Regions from separate parts of the Homo sapiens genome. Here all the other regions are linked to region 2. Evidence: promoter capture Hi-C in human tissues and cell types (Jung and others, 2019). All regions are on one chromosome and are shown on one strand. The core of a region is centred on a gene start or on the middle of the fragment in contact, and the rest is flanking DNA. Distances in the headings are between cores, read along the strand shown. Region 1 overlaps USP1 (ubiquitin specific peptidase 1). Region 2 holds the start of L1TD1 (LINE1 type transposase domain containing 1). Region 3 has its middle 35 kb from the start of KANK4. Region 4 has its middle 56 kb from the start of KANK4. Region 5 has its middle 15 kb from the start of USP1.

Region 1 (2,700 bases), core at 23-2,522, 250 kb before region 2:
TAAGGGATGTACAAATAAGCCTTATTTTTTATTTTTTTATTTTGAGACAGGGTCTCTGTCGCCCAGGCTGGAGTGCAGTGGCTTGATCGCGGCTCACTGGAGCCTCAACCTCCTGGGCTCAAGCAATCCTCCACCTCAGCCTCCCAATTAGCTGGAACTACAGGCTCACACCATGACGCCCTACTAGTTTTTGTATTTTTAGTAAAGACAGGGTCTTGCCATGTTACCCAGGCTGGTCTCAAACTCTTGCGCTCAAGCAATCCACCACCCACCTTGACCTCCCAAACTGCTGGGATTACAGGCATGAGCCACCACGTCTGGTCTTTTTTGTAATTTTAAGAGGAATTATGAATTACTATTTATGTGAATTACAATGGTTTTTTAATTATGGAAGTTAAAGATTTCTTTAAATACACTGTATTTAAATTTTAACTCAATTTGAAAACACAATGGGTAAATAAGTTGTACATGGGTATAACATATTGTGATTATAGTATACAGTAATATATAGTATACAAGTAACAAAAGTTTGATACACAGATTACAGGAGCAAACATTGTAAAAGGGAATTATCTAGTTAGCCACCTTGAAAGAATGAAAAATAATTGCCTGACAATAGCTCGCTAACAGAGAAATAATCTTTGTCATCCACCCCCCCAGTCCTCTTCATTTCCAGGCAAGTAAATTTCCATTAATTTACTTTTGCTTTTTACATTATTTTCTGTTCTTTATTTTTCTTACCTTGTCTTTTTGATTGGCTTCATCCTTTAGAGCTTCTTTCTTCCTTGAAATAATATTAAATAAGTGCTTTACTCCAGATTTAAAACCGGGACAAAAATATAATACCTATAAAAAGTGAGATTGTCTTAAGTGTTTACTGAACAAACAATACACGTAAAATCATTAAAACAACATCATGCTTTCTATAGAGCACTTTTAACATGTATTACCCTAAAATTCTGAGATTAAGTTTTGTGTCAAAATTTGTTCTCCACTTCATCAGTAGTAGCCCAGTGTCTTCCCTCATTAGCACAAAGCACTGCACCTGGGCAGATATTGCTAAGACTTTAAGGTTACAAGGACACACAACACAGCGCCAACGGACACACAACACAATGCCAACGTTACTTCCAAGGGATAAGACATATATCACACTGTAGCACCAGGAATCAGAGAAAGAAATTAAAGGTTTGACCTTCCACTTAAGGTCTACTCAATTTTGCTATCCCACCTTTATTTAGTCTATCATTTTCTCTTACCCCAAAGGAAGTTTAATAACATGTAACTTATTATTTTAGCCTATTCTGGTTTATTAACAATCAAAGGCAAAGACAGTATGGACATTAAAGTCCTCCAATAACTCAAAAACATTAAATGCTACATCAATCTTTGCCTACTAAAGCTTTATGATATAGCAAAATTGTCAATTTACCTGAAGTATACTATTAAGATAGCAAGTATTGCCGAGATTATTCAGTCCCACAAATGGTAACAAGTTTTCTCTCTTCTCACAGTTTATAGGTGAAGACTGTGCTGCAGGAACAACTTGATCACTATGAAATATAGAAGGGAGAACGATAAGTAGTTATCTTAAAGAAACAAGGTGAAAATATTACTTCTGTAGATTTAGTCTTTTCCCAAAAGTTGTATAATCTGAAAAGTATGTGAATCTTGTTCAGATGACATTTTAAGAAATACAGGCTCAAAAATTGCTATATGCCCAGAATAAAAGTTTTAAAAGCATTTAAAAACATTATTACACATAACAAGCCACAGAACAATTCCCTTAAAAGGATGTTAATCCTATTTTACAGAGTAGAAAATTGAGGAACTGAGAGACTATGATTTGTTTCATCTACTTTGACATTTTAATCAAATAGTTTAACTGAACAGAAACCTGGGAATAAACTAACCATGACAATATTTGGGAGAGGCTGCACTAAGTAAGATTCTATTAATAAGAATTCAGAGGAAAGAAAGTCTGTGAAGAGAATTATATATGACTTCCTGCTGGTAAAAAAAAAAAAAATATGTAGCTATCCCTCACTTAAAAATAAAATGTTCAGAATGTGGGTGTGGGGGCATTGACATGTAATTCCAGCTACTTGGGAGGACTGCTCGAGCCCAGGAATTCAAGACCAGCCTGGGCAACACAAGGAGACCCCATCTCAAAACACAAATGCTTTAAGTTTACTATTCTTTTACTTCTTTAACAACAACAACAAAAAAACCACTAGGTCCTTCCAATATTTTCATTTATTTTACGATTGCTAGCTATTATTACTCTAGCACCTCAAAGTATTCAGAAGTATGAATGCTGATAAACAAAAGCTTCACTCTCACAAATCTCCTCAACTGGTTATTGATAGCTATTAGGAAATTAACACATGGGACCAAATCCACCTTAGTCACCCAGCAGAGTGCCTATATGTTAAACAGGGAGTAGTACAGACTCCAGCTAGAGCTGCTGGTGGTGGAATAAAGTATTCCACTTTGTTCTGATTTATTTTCTGTAGCTAAATAATTTATTTGCATCAAAAGCATTACTTAAAGTTTATTTTTATAATTTGCAATCATATGCCTCCAACAGGTATGACTAGTTACATGACTAGAGTTTAAAATGTCTTATAACTGTCAAGTCTTCTGAACCAAACAAATATATATATATATATATATAAAACCTTTTACCCCTACACAGAT
Region 2 (2,765 bases), core at 1-2,500:
AAAAGTTATTACTTCCAAATCAATTTTTCCAGTCACATAATTAAACACTTTTTTTTTTTTTTGAGACGGAGTTTCGCTCTGCCGCCCAGGCTGGAGTGTAGTGGCCCGATCTCGGCTCACTGCAACCTCCGCCTCCCCGGTTCAAGCGATTCTCCTGCCTCGGCCTCCCTAGTAGCTGGGACTACAGGCGCGAGCCAACACACCCGGCTAATTTTGTATTTTTGGTAGAGACGGGGTTTCCCAAGTTGGCCAGGATGGTCTCGATCTCCTGACCTCGTGATCCGCCCCCGCCTCGGCCTCCCAAAGTGCTGGAAAATAACACGCCCGGCCCTCCATCTTTTTTTATTTGAGACAGTTTCGCCCCTGTTGCCCAGTCTGGAGCGCAATGGCGCGATCTCGTCTCAGTGCAACCTCTGCCTCTCGGGTTCAAGCGATTCTCCTGCCTCAGCCTCCTGAGTAGCTAGGATTACAGGCATGCGCCACCACGCCTGGCTAATTTTGTATTTTTAGTAGAGACGAGGTTTCTCCATGTTGGTCAGGATGGTCTCGAACTCCGACCTCAGGTGATCCGCCCGCCTCGGCTTCCCAAAGTGCTGGGATTACAGGCGTGAGCCACTGCTCCCGGCCCCTCCATCCTTTTTCTAAAGCTAGGACTTGTCAAGCACCACCTCATTTTCTTGACTTTATTTTTTCTTCACAGAACTACTTTCATGTTTCCAATTTGGGGATAGATAAGTCTTAGGAGAGTTTTTTTCTCATTGCGCCACGGACAGTAAGGGAAAGAGCAGGGAGTCAAGTGAGGGGGCCAACTGCCTGCCCCTACCCGGGCCCCACGCACGCACCCGGATCAGCCTTGCCTGGGGCACCTCGGGCCTCACGTACCTGGGCCAGCCTTACCCGGGGCACCCCGCGCCCTTCGCGCCTGGACCAGCCTTATCCGGGGCACCCTGGACCTCACGCTCCTGGACCAGCCTTACTTGGGGCGCTGCGGACCCCACGCGCCTAGACCAGCCTTACCCGGGGCACCCCGGACCCCACGCCCCTGGACCAGCCTTACCCGGGGCACCCCGGACCCCACGCGCCTGGCCCAGCCTTACCCGGCGCGCCCCGGACCCCACGCGCCTGGGCCAGCCTTACCCAGGGCACGCCGGGCCCCATGCACCCGGGCCAGCCTTACCTGGCGAAAAAGGAATCCGCCTGGACGACTGAGGAGCGAACAAAGTGAGGATGGAGCCTTGTAACTAAGGACTGAGAGGATTCCCGATCTCTGGGGCTGGCTCCTCCCCTCCTGGTGTGTCCCAACCCCCTCTGTCTACATACCCGCGCCTCCTCCCCGGAAATCGCATTCCGCCCTAAGCAATTGCTGACTTCCATTGCTGCCCCCCGACTGAGTCCAATTCCCTCTGTCTCCACCGTGCCTCCGCTTGAACGAGCCCCACCCCTCAGACCCGACTCCAGACTCAAATCTGAATAAAGGCACCACTAAAGCGCCTCATCACCCAGGCCTGAACCCCAAGGTCACCTCATTCCTTTTCTTCAACCCTCGCAGTTAATCCATTCCTAAGTCCTTGAATTTGCCGGCGTCTCTCCAACTCCACAGCTCCAGCCCAGTCCAAGCCCCCGTTGTCTCTCACCTGGATCACTGAAATCACCTCCAACTGCTCCCTGGCCTCTCCCACGACCCCTCTGTAATCCTTCTCCCCCTCCAATACTGTTCAGTGGCTTCCTGTTTCGGTTAAATTTCTACCTTCTCATTCTATCCGGACTGCCCCTTCAACATTGTCTTAGCACTACTCTTACAACAGAAACACTCTCTTTCTGTTCCTCAAAAAACACGGAACTACCTGCCTCAGGGCCCTTGCACTGGCTGTTTCCTCTGCGAGTTATTTTTTTCTTTTTCTTTCTTTCTTTCTTTCTTTTTTTTTTTTTTTGAGACAGTCTCTGTTGCCACAGCTGGAGTGCAGTGGCATGATCTTGGCTCACTGCAACCCCGGCCTCCTGGGTTCAAGCAATTCTCCTGCCTTAGCCTCCCAAGTAGCTGGGATTACAGGAGCACGCCACCACTCCCGGAAAATTTTTGTATTTTTTTTTTTTCTTTTTGAGACAGAGTTTTCTTATGTCACCCAGGCTGGAGTGCAGTGGCGCAATCTCGGCTCACTGCAACCTCTGCCTCCTGGATTCAAGCGATTTCTCCTGCCTCAGCCTCCTGAGTAGCTGAGATTACAGGCCCATGCCACCACGCCTGGCTAGTTTTTGTATTTTTAGTAGAGGGGGGTTTCACCATGTTGGTCAGGCTGGTCTTGAACTTCTGACCTGGTGATCCGCCCACCTCAGCTTCCCAAAGTGATGGGATTACAGGCGTGCGCCACCACGCCTGGCCACCTCTTTATTTTCCCAGTTCTTTCAGGATGGCTTCTGTTCATCCTCAGGTCTCAGGTCCAATGTTAACTCCTCTAACAGGCCTCCCAGACTACCCTTTCTACAGGAGCCAAACTCCCCATATCCCAATACTCTTTTTTTGTTTTATTTTTGTTTCTTAAGAGAGGGTCTTGCTCTCTAACAGAGACTCAAAGGTTCTGGGTGGTTGGACTCCCCAGGCCTGACTTGCAAGGCTCAGGTGGAACTTGACTTGCCCAAAGTCATGCAGCTAATAAGCAAAGAAGCCTCAATATCTGGTAGTTCAGTCAATACACAGCATATGAATAAACAAAGAGAATTCGGTCTTTTGCTTTTAATCCCTTATTTCTTCTTACTGCCTAAAATCC
Region 3 (2,700 bases), core at 36-2,535, 160 kb before region 2:
TTAGTAAAGACGAGGTTTTGCCATGTTGGCCAGGCTGGTCTCAAACTCCTGACCTCAGATGATCTCCCTGCCTCGGCCTCCCAAAGTGCTGGGATTACAGGCGTGAGCCACTTCGCCTGGCCCTTATTTCCTATATTTGTAAAACGGGGATAATAATGGCAATCGTCTCATAGGATTTTTGTGAGGATTAAACTATGTGAGTAATTAGCTCAATGCCAGGCACATAGTAAGTCATCAGAAATGTTTGATGGTCATGATGTTGATCTCATTTAACTCTCACAACAACTCTATCTAAGTGATATAGTTTGGATATGTGTCCCCGCCCAAATCTCATATCGAAATGTAATCCCTGATGTTGGAGGTGGGGCCTGGTGAGAGGTGATTGGATAATGGGGGCAGGTTTCACATGAATGTTTTAGTACCATCCCCTGGGTGTGGTCCTTGTGATAGTGAGTGAGTTCTTGTGAGATCTGATAGCACCTTCCCTGTGGCTCTGTCTTGCTCTTGCTTTCACCATGTGATATGCCTGCTACCCCTTTACCTTCCCCCGTTATTGGAAGCTTCTTGAGGCCTCCCCAATAGCAGATGCTGCTATGCCTCCTGTACAGCCTGAAGAACTGTCAGCCAATTAATCCTCTTTTCTTATGAATTACCCAGTCTCAGGTATTTATTTATAGCAATGTGAGAATGGACTAATACAGTAAAACATGAGGTTTCAGCACTGTTCCTGCAACATCACCTGGCCCCAGTCACACAAGTCATAAGATTAGGATCCAGCACTGGCTCATCAGTCCACCTCGGGGGCATACTTCTATGTCCCTGGAAGCTGGCCAGCTCCAGTGTCCAGCCACTTCTCATTCTGTCCTCATCTGCTCTCTGGATTGCTCATTCACTTACTCAACCAAATTCATGTAAAAGAGCTGTCTGGGCCGGGCGCGGTGACTCCACGTCTATAATCCCAGCACTTTGGGAGGCCGAGGCGGGAGGATCACCTGAAGTCGTGAGTTTGAGACCAGTCTGACCAACATGGAGAAGCCCCGTCTCTACTAAAAGTGTAAAATTAGCCGGGCGTGGTGGCACATGCCTGTAATCCCAGTTACTCAGGAGGTTGAGGCAGGAGAATCGCTTGACCCTGGGAGGCAGAGGTTGCAGTGAGCCAAGATCACGCCATTGCACTCCAGCCTGGGAAACAAGAGTGAAACTCCGTCTCAAAAAAAAAAAAAAAAAAAAAAAAGCCATTTGAGGATTACTCAGAGCTACAGCCACTAACGCTGGTCCCTCAGTCAGAGACTGGTCCTGCTCTCATGCCTGAAAGGAAGGCCAGGAATCTGACCTTTACTCTTGGGATCTACCTGATTTCCTCTGGCACCAGACTCACCGCTTGGTCTGCCAAAACCAAAAGTTTTGTTTTTTTTTTAACGATGATTATTATTTTTTAGTATAATTGAGATGGGGTCTTGCTATGTTGCCCAGGCTAGGCTTGAACTCCTGGTCTCAAGATATCTTTCCATCTCCACCTCCCAAAGTGCTGGGATTACAGGCGTAAGCCACAGCATCAGGCCCAAACCATTTATTTAAACCTGAAAAAAGGTAATTGGTGTACAAGGTAAAAATACCCAGAAGTTGCAAAAGGATATAGAGAGATGTCTCCTTCTCAGCCTACCCTCTGGACTCCCATTTCCTCTCCCCAGAGGCAACCATGGAGACCAGTTTCCTCAAAGTGGATTCTGAATCAATTCCTTGTTTCTTTCTCTAGCTGCGCCATCCTGGGGCTGTATTTTTGCAGCATGCACCCTCAGTGCCCTGTGGCCACGCTCCCTGCTCCGCCACCAGCAAAACCCATCCAAAATCCTCCCCTCCCTCCTTCCTGCCTCCTAATCCTGTGCATCCTGCTATTTCTCTTCAAGCCACCTTCTCCAGGAAGAATTTTTTTTTTTTTTTTTTTTTTAGCAATTCCAGCTGTTTGTCATCCCTCGTCTTCCTGACAACATAACTTACTATTTCTGTCACATATTCGGACATTTTGTCTTATCCACTGCAACAGGTGCTAGTTTGTAACTGCTCAGTGTGGGCCACCCTGCAGTCCCCAATTATCCTGGAGTTGCTTGTCCATCCCCATGGCCCCCATTACTGCCTACACCCTGAGGACTCTCAACTCCACTCTCCTCAGCTTCAGATCTGTATTTCCAGCTGAAACTGGGCATCTTCCCAGTTGTCCTGTGAGAATGTCCAAAATGGAATTCGTCCTTTTGGCCCTTAACTTAGTACTTCCTGAGTCCCCTCTCTTAAGGAATGGCATCAACATCTATTTTGTCATCCAAACTTGAAACTTCACTCAGGAGGATGTGTGCACGGGAAAATGGGGGACAGTGTTCACAAACCCTGTTATCAGAAACGGCTCTCGGCTCCATCCCTTTCCCCCCCATTCCACCATCTCTGCCCTTGCCACAGTCTTTTGCCTGATTTAGGGAAAGTGTTTTCCCTCCCTACAGCCTCTCTTCCCTCCAATTCATTGTCTCTTCACCTGGCACTGTCATCTTTCTAAAGGACAGTTGTGATCCTTCCACTTTCCTGCTTGAAAACTTTTCAGGGCTCCCCGCTTGCCTGCTGGCCCCTCCAGAGTCACCTCGTGTACTCCTCCTGTCACTCCCATTGCCACCGTCCCCCAAGCCCCTGAAATTCCGGTCAGGTGGTCACCCT
Region 4 (2,781 bases), core at 252-2,751, 180 kb before region 2:
GCTGCATGTATGAAGGGTGTTATTGCAAATTGCTCATCTCAGACCTGGGCCCAGGCTTCTGTTTTACATTTTAATAAATGGCTAAATGGTTAGCTTAGGTTGGATCAATTAAAATCATAGCATTCTTAATTTCACTTAAAGGTAGCCTCTTAGAAAATGAATGATTTCAGAAAATCAGGATGTGACGAATGAATTAATTGGAAGTTATTATTAGAATTAATGAAGCTTTCAGAACTGCCTTTTCGAGCTCTGTAACAAACTCTCTTTTGTTTGAATTTCAAAAGTCACCCCACAACATGGCCCAAAGTTCCTTAGATGTGTATCTCTGTAATGAACAGGAGGTTTGAAAAAGTGCCCTGCTTCTGCAGCAGACTTTAACGCTTTTCAAGATGGAAAGTTTTTTAGCTTTCAAAAGAACAACCACCACCGTTTCCCTCTTTAATGCTCATCCCTCCAACAGAAACACACAGTGAAAGAAGGAATCAGTTGGGTGGACTCTTAATGGCTTCCTGGGGTTGTAGTGTCATTGTGAGACAGAGAGGACCTTCAGAAAAAAAAAAAGGTGAGATCGAGTTCATATTTTCATAAGGAAGGAATATAATAATGTTTGCCCATATGCAAGACTTTGTGAAGTGTATATGTTGCTGCAGAAATGAATCACATAATCACTACACTTACATAATTATTTGTGCAATAGTTGATTTCCCCACTAGATTATAAACTTCATGTGGACAAGGCTAAATTTTTTCTAGTTCACCTCTACATCCCTAGACTCTAGCACTTAGATGCCAAAAATATACATTGAATAAACACTATTGAGGTCCCAAAGAGTGATTTAAAAAAAAAAAAAAGCTAAGGCTCACATTTAAAATATAGATATTATGGTAGGAAAGAAAATGCACTATTTTTGTAAATAATTTTTTATTTTGAAATAATTTCAAACTTAGAAAAAAGTTTTAAAAGTTATACCAAGAACTACTGGATACTCTTTGTTCGAATTCCCCAAAGTTTAACATTTGCCACATTTGCTTTTATATGTATGAGAGTAAGTTGCAGGCATATGCTCTTTTACTCCTCAATATTTCAGTATGTAATTCCTAAGAACAAAGACCTTCTCTTACATAACCACCAAACAGATGTCAAAATCAGGAGATTAATAGCAAGGCAATATTATTATCTAATCCATAGACCTCATTCAACATTTGCTAGTTACCTTAATAATATCTACACAGTAATAGAAAAATAATTTTTAAATATTACATGTTGATTAAATGCAACATGTAATCCTGGATTAGATATTTTAAAATTATTTAAAATATTATTTAAAATTATTGCTCTTAATCAGCATGTAATCTCTTTAGTCTTCTTCAATCCGTAATGGTTCTTCAGTCTTTCTTAGTCCTCCATGACCTTGACATTTTTGAAAAGTAGAGGCCAATTATTTTGTAGGATGTCTTTCAATTCAGGTATATTTGATGTTCCTTTGTGATTAAGTTCAGATTTTGTGTCTTTGGCAGGATTACCAGGAAAGTGATGCTGTGTGTTTTGCATTGCACCATATCAAGAGTCACGTATGGGCTGGGTGCAGTGGCTCACGCCTGTAATCCCAGAAATTTGGGAGACTAAGGTGGGTGAATGGCTTGAGTTCAGGAGTTTGAGACTAGCCTGGGCAACACGGTGAAACCCTGTCTCTACAAAAAAATACAAAAGTTAGCCAGGTGTGGTGGCACGCACCTGTAGTCCCAGCTACTCAGAAGGCTACGGTGGAAGAATCATCTGATCCCAGGAGGTGGAGGCTGCAGTAAGCTGTGATTGAACCACCCCTGTCTCAAAAAAAAAAAAAAAAAAAAAAGTCACATATGTTAGTCTGTTCCATTGCTGGTGATACTAACCTGGATCACTGGGACAAGCTGGTGTCTCCCAGATTTCTCCACTGTAAAGCTACAATTTTCTTCTTTATAATTAGTAAGTATTTTGTGAGGAAATACTTTGAGATCATGCAAATATCCTGTTCCTTATCAAATTTTCACCCATAACTTTCGCATCCATTGATAATTCTTGCTTAAATTATTACTATGATACTTGCCAGTTAGTGAATGTCTACTCTATCATTCATTCTGCATTTCTTAGTTGGCATTCCCTTCTAGGAAAGCTGTTCTCTTTTTCTCCTATTTACTTGTTAATGTATTTCTTTATATTAGCATGAACTTGAATGATTATTTCAGTCATTGGAATTATAATCTGTTAATATCATTACTTATTTGATATACATATTCTCCCAGATTAGGCTGGCCCTCAGGCTCTTTTGACACGTGCTGTTGTTTTTGAGCATTCCCTTTCTCCCTGAGATAAGAAGGTGATCCAGGCTGAAACTCAATCTTCTCTGCACAGTCCTGGAATCAGCCATTCTCTCAGGAGCCCTAGCTCCTTTTAGTGGAGAATGGTCTCAAATTTACTTTTAAAATAAAAAACGAAGACAAAATAGATAATACAAAACTATTCAGCAAATACAATAGATATTAAACAAAAATCTACTCTGACCTATGCCATTGTCAGTTACACAAGAGGGACACAAAGCTTGATTCATTAAGATAGTCTATTATAGGTTAGATATATAGAAATATATAAATGAAGCAGAATAGGCCAGGCATGGTGGCTCACACCTGTAATCCCAGCACTTTGGGAGGCCGAGGCAGTAGGATCACTTGAGCGCAGGAGTTCAAGACCAGCCTGAGCAACATATCAAGACCTCATCTCTATTTAAAAAAAAAAGTTAAGTGA
Region 5 (2,700 bases), core at 195-2,694, 230 kb before region 2:
TCGGCTCACTGCAACCTCTACCTCCCAGGCTCAAGCAATCCTTCTGCCTCAGCCTCCCGTGTAGCTGAGACAACCGGCCTATGCCACCACGCCCAACTAATTTTTCTATTTTTTGCAGAAATGGGGTTTCACCATGTTACTTAAGCTGGTCTTGAACTCCTGAGCTCAGTGACCTACTATTTATATAGAATTTTATGAAATTTGGTCTAAATATTCTCTTAACTATAGTTTTTGCATACAAATATGTACCTCCTAGTGTTGTTTTTATCTTTTACCAAAGCAATTCAGTGTTGCACTCTAATTTATTTCCTTTAAGTCTTTGAATAAATTTATGTATTTACTTCACCTACAGCCCCAAAGCCAAATTAAGAAACTTTTAAAGCAATTTACTATTAAAATATGATAAAATTTATATTAAAATTAAGAATTATCATAGAAAAAAAATCACAGTTTAAAAACTACCCAGTAAAATTAAGCAAAATGCTATATATTTTTTTTGAGACAGAGTCTCGCTCTTGTTCCCCAGGCTGGAGTGCAATGGTGCAATCTCGGCTCACTGCAACCTCCACATCCCAGCTTCAAGCGATTCTCCTGCCTGAGCCTCCTGAGCAGCTGGGACTACAGGCGCCCACCACCATGCCCAGCTAATTTTTGTGTCTTTAGTAGAGACGGGCTTCCACCGTGTTGGCCAGGCTGGTCTCGAACTCCTGACCTCAGGTGATCCGCCTGCCTCGGCCTCCCAAAATACTGGGATTACAGGCGTGAGCCACCGCACCCAGCTGCCTTGTATGTTTATATTTTAACATTTCATCTGTGATTCAGAACCAATTTATAAGAGAGTGGTATGTGAATTGCATTTCAAATGTAATCCCATGTGTACATGTAATTCCTTACATTTAAACATTATTCAATTAGCCACTAAATATTTTAGCTACTTTAGGAAAAATATCTGAATCTTTTCAAGGAATACAATAAACCATGTTTGTATTCCCAATTTTATGTTTTGTAGGTCTACATCTTCCCTGATGATGTGAACCATAAAATCACATTTAAAATATTAACGTTCACTTTTATTTTTTTATTTTTTTGAGACAGAGTCTCGCTCTGTCGCCCAGGCTGGAGTGCAGTGACACGATCTTGGCTCACTGCAACCTCCGCCTCCCAGGTTCAAGCAATTCTCCTGCCTCAGCCTCCCGAGTAGCTGGGACTACAGGCTTGTGCCACCACACCCAGCTAATTTTTATATTTTTATTAGAGACAGGGTTTCTCCATATTGGCCAGACCAGTCTCGAACTCCTGACCTCGTGATCCACCCTCCTCGGCTTCCCAAAGTGCTGGGATTACAGGCATGAGCCACTGCACCCAGCCTAAAGTTCATTTTTAAAACTTAATTTTACCAGCCGGGCAGGGAGGCTCACACCTGTAATCCCAGCACTTTGGGAGGCCGAGGTGGGCGGATCACAAGGTCAGGAGTTTGAGACCGGCCTGGCCAATATGGTGAAACCCCATCTCTACTAAAAATACAAAAATTAGCCAGGCATGGTGGTGCGCGCCTGTAGTCCCAGCTACTCTGGAGGCTGAGGCAGGAGGATCGCCTGAACCTGGGAGGCAGAGGTTGCAGTGAGCCGAGATTATGCCACTGCACTCCAGCCTGGGCGACAGAAAGAGGCTCCATCTCAAAAAAAGAAGAAGAAAGAAAAGCTTAATTTTACCAATATATTTTCTTTTTAACTTATTAGCATTAATGCTAACAATCTCCACAATAAGAAATGTTAATTTTCCTACATTTGTTATAGCATATATTTTATTTTATTTTACTTTATTATTATTATTTTTTTTAGAGACAGGGTCTCATTCTGTCATCCAGGCTGGAGTGCAGTGGTACCATTATAGCTCACTAACTTCAAACTCCTAAGTTGAAGCACTCCTTCCACCTCAGCCCCCTAAGTAGCTAGGACTACAAGTGTCCACCACAACACCAGGCTAATTTATTTATTTTTTTGTAGAAATGGGGTCTTGCTATGTTGCCCAGGCTCATATCAAGCTCCCAGCCCCAAATGATCCTCCACCTTCGTCTCCCAAAGCAGTGGGATTACAGGTGTGAGCCCCTGCACTCAGCCATATATTTTATTACCTTTGAATTTAAACACAATATACAAATTCTAAGACTTGGAATTATAAAATTTGCATCAAAGACAAAAACAGAACCTATATATGATTTTTCTCTTTCTATCATAAAAGGAAAAGGAGTGGCATCGCTCCCTATGCTCAATTCAGAAACTGGTCTTTGGGTATCAAGATTCAAATTCACACCTTTTTTTCCCCACTGAAGAGTTAGGCATGGAGAAACTGTGTATGTGTTATCATATATGTAGGTATGTGTGTGGACAGGACCATGTAAAAGCATCTTATTATTACACTGTAATATAATTTTTCTGTCTGTATGCTTTCACTTTTTTTTGGAGCAGGTAAGTTAATTTTTTTCTTCTGTAAGAGTATGCTGAGTATGCTGGATAAATAATTAGTTAAAACAATTTAACTCATAATAATATCTTCGCTTTATTGATTTATCACAATACCAATAAAAGTTATATATTTAGGTCTGCATGTAAAACATGATTATCAGTATTTATTCTTTCAAACAGATGTTTTACAATAATTTGGTTTCATACCTTTTATCAATGGAAGATTTATGTCTTC

Evidence for each region. The method cuts DNA at HindIII sites, captures the fragments that hold promoters and counts their contacts. A contact is called where the count stands out against the background at its distance.
Region 1: a contact is called between a fragment that was not itself captured here and the fragment with the promoter of L1TD1 in region 2, in 1 of the 25 tissues and cell types used here (aorta).
Region 3: a contact is called between a fragment that was not itself captured here and the fragment with the promoter of L1TD1 in region 2, in 4 of the 25 tissues and cell types used here (dorsolateral prefrontal cortex, mesendoderm cells, pancreas and 1 more).
Region 4: a contact is called between a fragment that was not itself captured here and the fragment with the promoter of L1TD1 in region 2, in 1 of the 25 tissues and cell types used here (liver).
Region 5: a contact is called between a fragment that was not itself captured here and the fragment with the promoter of L1TD1 in region 2, in 1 of the 25 tissues and cell types used here (bladder).

The regions. Positions count from the first base shown.
Region 1 is chr1:62,440,341-62,443,040 of GRCh38, reverse strand. It overlaps USP1 (ubiquitin specific peptidase 1), which reads right to left. Exons shown (of 9, transcript NM_003368.5): 3 at 1,433-1,553; 4 at 742-846. Among named protein-coding and RNA genes, the nearest start is that of USP1, 4.6 kb to the right of the region's middle. The HindIII fragment of the contact is 4,518 bases long and covers 1-2,700 here.
Region 2 is chr1:62,193,334-62,196,098 of GRCh38, reverse strand. It overlaps L1TD1 (LINE1 type transposase domain containing 1), which reads right to left and starts at 1,250. Exons shown (of 4, transcript NM_019079.5): 1 at 1,178-1,250. RefSeq lists enhancers at 395-1,250, 1,251-2,107. The HindIII fragment of the contact is 18,338 bases long and covers 1-2,765 here.
Region 3 is chr1:62,353,425-62,356,124 of GRCh38, reverse strand. No RefSeq gene overlaps it. Among named protein-coding and RNA genes, the nearest start is that of KANK4, 35 kb to the right of the region's middle. The HindIII fragment of the contact is 4,856 bases long and covers 1-2,700 here.
Region 4 is chr1:62,374,360-62,377,140 of GRCh38, reverse strand. No RefSeq gene overlaps it. Among named protein-coding and RNA genes, the nearest start is that of KANK4, 56 kb to the right of the region's middle. The HindIII fragment of the contact is 3,050 bases long and covers 1-2,781 here.
Region 5 is chr1:62,421,087-62,423,786 of GRCh38, reverse strand. No RefSeq gene overlaps it. Among named protein-coding and RNA genes, the nearest start is that of USP1, 15 kb to the left of the region's middle. The HindIII fragment of the contact is 9,030 bases long and covers 1-2,700 here.